2 separate regions of the Homo sapiens genome follow, and region 1 is linked to region 2. Evidence: promoter capture Hi-C in human tissues and cell types (Jung and others, 2019). All regions are on one chromosome and are shown on one strand. The core of a region is centred on a gene start or on the middle of the fragment in contact, and the rest is flanking DNA. Distances in the headings are between cores, read along the strand shown.

Evidence for each region. Contacts are between HindIII fragments. The study calls those that stand out against the background at their distance.
Region 1: the fragment with the promoter of SERPINE1 here is called in contact with the fragment with the promoter of NAT16 in region 2 in 1 of the 25 tissues and cell types used here (liver).

Annotation. Positions count from the first base shown.
Region 1 is chr7:101,125,385-101,128,522 of GRCh38, reverse strand. It overlaps SERPINE1 (serpin family E member 1), which reads right to left and starts at 1,419. Exons shown (of 9, transcript NM_000602.5): 1 at 1,279-1,419; 2 at 1-130. The coding sequence starts at 129. RefSeq lists enhancers at 1-203, 204-983, 1,764-2,543. The HindIII fragment of the contact is 16,005 bases long and covers 1-3,138 here.
Region 2 is chr7:101,179,005-101,182,221 of GRCh38, reverse strand. NAT16 (N-acetyltransferase 16 (putative)) reads left to right here and starts at 1,929. Exons shown (of 4, transcript NM_198571.3): 1 at 1,929-2,180. RefSeq lists a silencer at 1,760-2,054 and an enhancer at 1,426-2,148. The HindIII fragment of the contact is 15,471 bases long and covers 1-3,217 here.

The DNA of each region.
Region 1 (3,138 bases), core at 170-2,669, 53 kb after region 2:
AAACACCCTCACCCCGAAGTCTGAGGCCAGGTGGGCCACGTAGGATGGGGGATGGTGCACAGCAGACCCTTCACCAAAGACAAGGGCCAGGCCCAGGACTAGGCAGGTGAGGGCTGGAGACATCTGCATCCTAGAGCAATGGAAAGAGGGCTGGTGAAGGAATCGTTCTGGAAGACAGGCGGGAGGGGAGGGGAGCTGGCCAGCTGTGGGCCCTGCTCTTCTTGTTTCCTGCAAGCAGGTGGTAAGTGAACACTAGGGCAAGGTGCAGGAAGAGACCATGACATGTTCAGGTTCTAAGCCCATCCCACTCCGTCTCACTCAGACTGACTTATCCCCGGGCAGTGGCAGGGAGTCTTCGCCCATCTTGCCCTGTGGGAATCTTGGAATCCAGTCCATCTCCCTTCCCTCTGTGTCCCGTAAAAAAGCCTTAGAAGAAAAGCAGGTGAGAAGTCATTACCACTCTCTGCCTTTGCAGCCCAGGGGGAATTTAGCCCAGACTCAATTATCAATTATCACAACATCTTTGATTTGCATAAGCTTTAAATTTGCTTTCTTTTCTTTTCTTTCTTTTCTTTCTTTCTTCCTCTTTCCTCTTTCTTTCTTTCTTTCTTCTTTACTTCCTTCCTTCTTTCCTCTCTCTCTTTCTCTCTCTTTCTTCCTTCCTTTCATTCATTTTTAGAGACAGGGTCTTGCTCTGTCACCCAGGCTGGGTGCAATGGCTCAGTCTTGGCTCCCTGCAGCCTCCGCCTCCCCAGCTGAAGCAATCCTCCCACCTCAGCCTCCCAAGTAGCTGGGAATACAGGCACACCAGCACGCCCAGCTAATTTTTGTATTTTTTTGGGAGAGCAGGGTTTTGCCATGTTGCCCAGGCTGGTCTCAAACTCCTGGGCTCAAGTTATCTGCCTGCCTCAGCCTCACAAAGTGCTGGGATTACAGGCATGAGCCACAGTGCCCAGCCTTAATTCTCTTAATGCTTTCCCAGCGATTGTTTCATTCAAGTTAGCAGGCATGAGGTGGGAAATGGGTAAGTGTCTTGATGCAGAGGGACTGAGAGAGTCAAGGTTCTTGTTACTGGGTGATGGGGTTGTTGGTGACGCCTGACCATCCTCCCTGCTCTCCTGCAGTCACCCCTAGGGCAGGGTCGACCCAAGGCTGCAGGTCCGAGGAAAAGAAAATAGAGGAATAGCGGGGGATCATGGAGGGAGGAGATTCTGGGGAGGCGAGTTCTCTGCCTTAAGCCCGAAGTAAGAGGTTGGAGGGAGTTTGCTTTTCTCCTACCTGAAGTTCTCAGAGGTGCCTTGCGATTGGCGGTTCGTCCTGCTCTGGCGGCGGCTGCTGAGCTGCAGGAATTCAGCTGCTGGAGGGGGGCGTGTGGGTCTTCTTGACAGCGCTCTTGGCCCTGCAGCCAAACACAGCTGTGCTCCTCTGTGGGCCACTGCCTCCTTTTATACCAGATGTGGGCAGGAAATAGATGAACTCATGTTCCAGCCCCACCCACTCACTGGCTCTGGGAGTCCGTCTGAACAGCCAGCGGGTCCCCCTCGACACCTCCCTCTCTGGGACTTGCTGAGGCATGTGTGTGTGTGTGTGTGTGCTGCTCTGTGTGTGTACGTGTGTAAGAGCATTCAGGAACAATTGAGCAAACCCCAATAGCCTTGGCCTGAGAACCTCCCTTGACCTTTCTGCCCTCTGCCTGTGTCTGTCTCTCCCGGATGTCCTGCCAGGTTGACTGTCTGCCATGCCGGGTGACCCAAAAAGCCTAGGACCCCTAGTGTTCAGCTTGGAGAAAAAAAAAACAGCTCACGTTGCCTGCTTTTCCTTTGGCGAACCAGGTCACTGTGGAGTTATCAAAGATAACCTCCATCAAAACGTGGAAGTTTTCCCCCAGGGCTGTCCACCCGGTGCTCTGGACCACCTCCAGGAAAGAGCGCCCCTCCCTCCTCCTGGGCCCAGCCCAACAGCCACAGGGCATGCAGCCAGCCACGTGATTGTCTAGGTTTTGTCTGTCTAGGACTTGGGCCCAACAGAGGACTCTTGGTCTTTCCCTCATCCCTGCCATGTGCCCGGCCGCCTCCGATGATACACGGCTGACTCCCCACGTGTCCAGACTCTCTCTGTGCCCCTGAGGGCTCTCTTGTGTCAACAACCTTGTCTGGCTGAGGTTGGAGGTGTGCTGGGTGGGGTGGTGGTGGCTGAACGGGACCAGGGGTTACCATGGTAAAAGCTTGGTAAGGAAACAGGAGACCAACGTGTAAGTTTCACTTCTTCGAGCTGCCCGCTAGGACTTGGGGCAGCTTGTCCTTTATCCTCTTCCTCCAGACACAGACACAAGGGGAAAAGGGATAGAAACAGAGTGTCAATTCATGGCAGGTTTGCAGGGTGTGCTTTTAGGGCAAGGGGGTGAGGGGAGGAAGAGTGACCGATAGATTCTGTGGAGCAGTGGTCCTCAACGTTTTTGGCACCAGGGACTGGTTTCATGGAAGACAATTTTTTCACAGACCAGGGTGGGATGGTTTCGGGATGATTCAAGCACATTACATTTATTGTGTGCTTTATTTCTATTATTATTACATTGTAATATATATAATGAAATAATTCCACAATTCACCATCGTGTAGAATCAGTGGGAGCCCTGAGCTTGTTTTCCTGCAACTAGATGGTCCCATCTAGGGGTGATGGGAGACCGTGACAGATCATCAGGCATTAGATTCTCATAGGGAGCTTGCAACCTAGATCCCTCACATGAACAGTTTAGAATAGGGTTCGAGCTCCTATGAGAATCTAATGCCGCCGCTGATCTGACAGGGAGTGGAGCTCTGGTGGTAATGCGAGTGATGAGGAGTGGCTGTAACTACAGATGAAATTTCACTCACCTGCCACTCACCTCCTGTTATGCAGCCTGGTTCCTAACAGGCTATGGACCAGTACGGGCCCCTGGCCCAGAGGTTGGGTACCTCTGCTGTAGAGGGTGGAAACTGGCTAGCAGTGGGTGAGCATGTAGGGCTAGACTAGTGGATTTTGTTGTTGTTGTTGTTTTTTGTTTTTTTTGTTTTTCTGTTTTGAGACGGAGTCTTATTTTGTTGCCCAGGCTGAGTGCAGTAGCACTATCTTGGCTCACTGCAATCTCCGCCTCCCAGG
Region 2 (3,217 bases), core at 680-3,179:
GGTTGGAATTCCTGTATGTGGGATTCCAGGAACATGACCTTCCTTCTTATTGCATTGGCACATCCAATGGGATCAGTTTGCCTGATTATGAAGTTATCACCTCGGAAAGTAAAGAAAGAAAAAATGGAATAAGATGGGTGAACAATGAATTTTGGGGTGGGGGAGAGGGTAGGGGGAGCATGAGAGCTGGGCGGCCCCTGGAGAGAGGACTCCAGCAGACCTTGAAAGGCCTTAACATTATTCCCTGCATCGGCCGGGCACGGTGGCCCACGCCTGTAATCCCAGCACTTTGGGAGGCCGAGGCGGGCGGATCACGAGGTCAGGAGATCGAGACCATCCTGGCTAACACGGTGAAACCCCGTCTCTACTAAAAATACAAAAAATTAGCCGGGGGTGGTGGCGGGCGTCTGTAGTCCCAGTTACTGGGGAGGCTGAGGCAGGAGAATGGCATGAACCCGGGAGGCAGAGCTTGCAGTGAGCCGAGATCGCGCCACTGCACTCCAGCCTAGGCGAGAGTGAGACTCCTCTCAAAAAAAAAAAAAAAAAATTATTCCCTGCATCTCCAAAGCAGTTTACAGTTGCTAAAGGGCTTTGTCCATCACTTTCCTGGCTCCTTACAGGGTAGAACTGAAGGTGTTCTGATCTCACTTTATTTATTATTTTATTTTATTTTGAGTTGGATTCTCGCTCTGCCGCGCAGGCTGGAGTGCAGTGGCACGATCTCGGCGCATTGCAATCTCTGCCTCCCGGGTTCAAGCGATTCTCCTGCCTCAGCCTCCCAAGTAGCTGAGATTACAGGTGCAGGCCACTGTGCCCGGCTGATTTTTGTATTTTTAGTAGAAACGGGGTTTCGCCATGTTGGCCATGCTGGTCTTGAACTCCTGACCTCAGGTGATCCTCCCACCTCGGCCTCCCAGAGTGCTGGGATTACAGGCATGAGCCACCGTGCCCGGCCAGGCCAGGCTAATTGTTGTATTTTTAGTAGAGACGGGGTTTCACCATGTTGGCCAGGCTGGTCTCGAACTCCTGACCTCAAGTGATTCCCCCGCCTCGGCCTCCCAAAGTGCTGGGATCACAGGCTTGAGCCACCGCACCCAGTCTTGAGCTCACTTTATAGGTGGGATGGAGAACCTTGTAGGAGTTAAGAGCCTGGGCCACCGCCTTATTAGAGCAGGGGCAGCGCTGCACCCACCCGGGTCCCAGCTCCACACTTCCCTCTTCCTCCCCAGCCACCAGGATCAGCGTGGGGTGCAGCGCCTCCTGAGTGCAGAGGTCTGTGTGAATGTGCCTGGGTGTGCGCTGTGTACCTGGAGGTCTTTCTGCCTGCTGTCCCGTGGGGTACATTGTGGATTTAGGGGCCTTGTGCACCCGGGGAACCAGGGTGCTCAGGCACCCACGCAGTGGTGAGAAGATGGAGAGATCTTGGCCTCCCTCTGCCCTTTTCAGCCTTTCAACTTCTGTCTCTTGATGTCTCTTCGCCTTCCCGGTGTTCTAGGGTTTCTGATTCCCTCTATCAGTTTCCGGGGACGAAGGCTCGGAGTCCCCTTCCCAGCCGCTCTTATAATGGAGAGAGGAGATTCCATTGAGGGGTGGCTCCTGGAGGAGGGGTACTTCAGGGCAGTGGGGGACCCCCGGACAGAGAACGGAGGTGCTGGGCGTGGGGTGGGGAGATAACTAAGCCAGCAACACCAGCATCACCACCACCAAAACCCGAGACACCACCATCCTCAGTCCCACTCCCCAGCCGGGACACAGGGCGGAGTCTCGCCAGTAGGGCTTGAGGCCACCCAGCTGCCCAGGGCGCACCCCGACCCCCGGCCCCGCCAGCAGGGCACGAGTCCGCTCCGGATCCGTCCCGGGTTTCTTCCGCGTCGCCGGGGTCTCCGCCCCTCGAAGCTGCCGCCGGAGCGTCGCCGGGGGAGCCACGCGTGCCACCCGAACCCCTGAACCGATGGGCGCCCCGGCCCGCGTCGCCAACGGAGCTGCGGCGCTGCCCCAGCGCTGACCGACGTTAGAGTCGGGCTCCGACAGCGCGGCCGAGTCCCCGCGCGTCATCCTCCTTTGACTCTTGGGGGCTCCAAAGGGACCTCTCTCTTGGCACCGGGGGTGTCTGCGCCCGCCGCCCGCCCCGCTTGGCTTTGCGGCATCTCGGCCCTGGCTCCAGCTCCGGCTCCGGCGAGGTAGGGGGGCGGCCGGGCCTGGGGACTGGGGAGGGGGCTAGCGTGCTCCTCCACCGCAGAATGGGGCAGCAGAAGGCCACCGCCCCTCAGGGGGACCAAGCGGCTGCGCCCCCTTCTGCCCAGCCCCTCCCAGTCCGAAGACCCAGAAAACTGAGTCAGAGGCTGCGCTTCAGGTGTCCAGAAGCGCTCCCCCGCCCCCCTCTGTTGCCATGTCGCTCCCACCTGTCCCCAGGGTCCGGCGCCCAGGGGAACCCCCGCCAAGCAGATCGCTCCCTTTGCAATCTCCCTCTCCCCCAAGCCCAAGCCCCCAATCCGGGGTAGAGGCAGAGGGAAGACCCTCACTCGGGAAGACCCTGCAGGACAGCCCCCCCTTCTCCACTACTGTGGCCCTCTGGGGCCCTCCCCCCACCCCCTTTGGCTGGGCCATCTTCCTCGGCCCCTGCCTCTGCCCACCCCCTAGGCCTTCTCTCCCGCCCCCACTTCATCGCCTCTCCCCGTCTCTGTTTCCAAGGTTGTTCTCTTACGGCCTTTTTTCTGACTTTCTTTTCCCCTTGACCCCTTCCCCTCCACGGATCCCCGCCCCCCATACCCCGGGGCGAAGGGGGTGTGTCACGCTGCTTTCTATTTACAGTGTCCCAGGGGAGGGGGTGCGTGCTAGGATTTTTTTTTTTTCATCTGCTGGGCCCAGAGTCACGAGGTGTCATGTCTGTGATTCGGTGTCGAAGCCTCCTCCGGCTTCCCTGCCTGTCCCCTGCGGCCGCATCTCCTGTCCGCTTTTGTCTGCTCTCTGCCTCCATTCCCGTCCTTTTCGCTCTCATCTTTGGGCGCTTTGTGCAGCTGCCTTCTTTGTCTCCGCCTCTCCGGCGACTGGGCTCTCCCTTCCCTCCCTCTCCTCCCTCCCCCAGTGTCAAGAAGCCATCGGCCTCAAGGGCATCGATATTTCAGGTGTGTGGGGTGTGGTGGGAGTGGGGTGCGGGTGGGTGGGCTGCCGGCATTCCCAGCTCTGACTCCGATCATGCCCAGCTATGACTCTGATC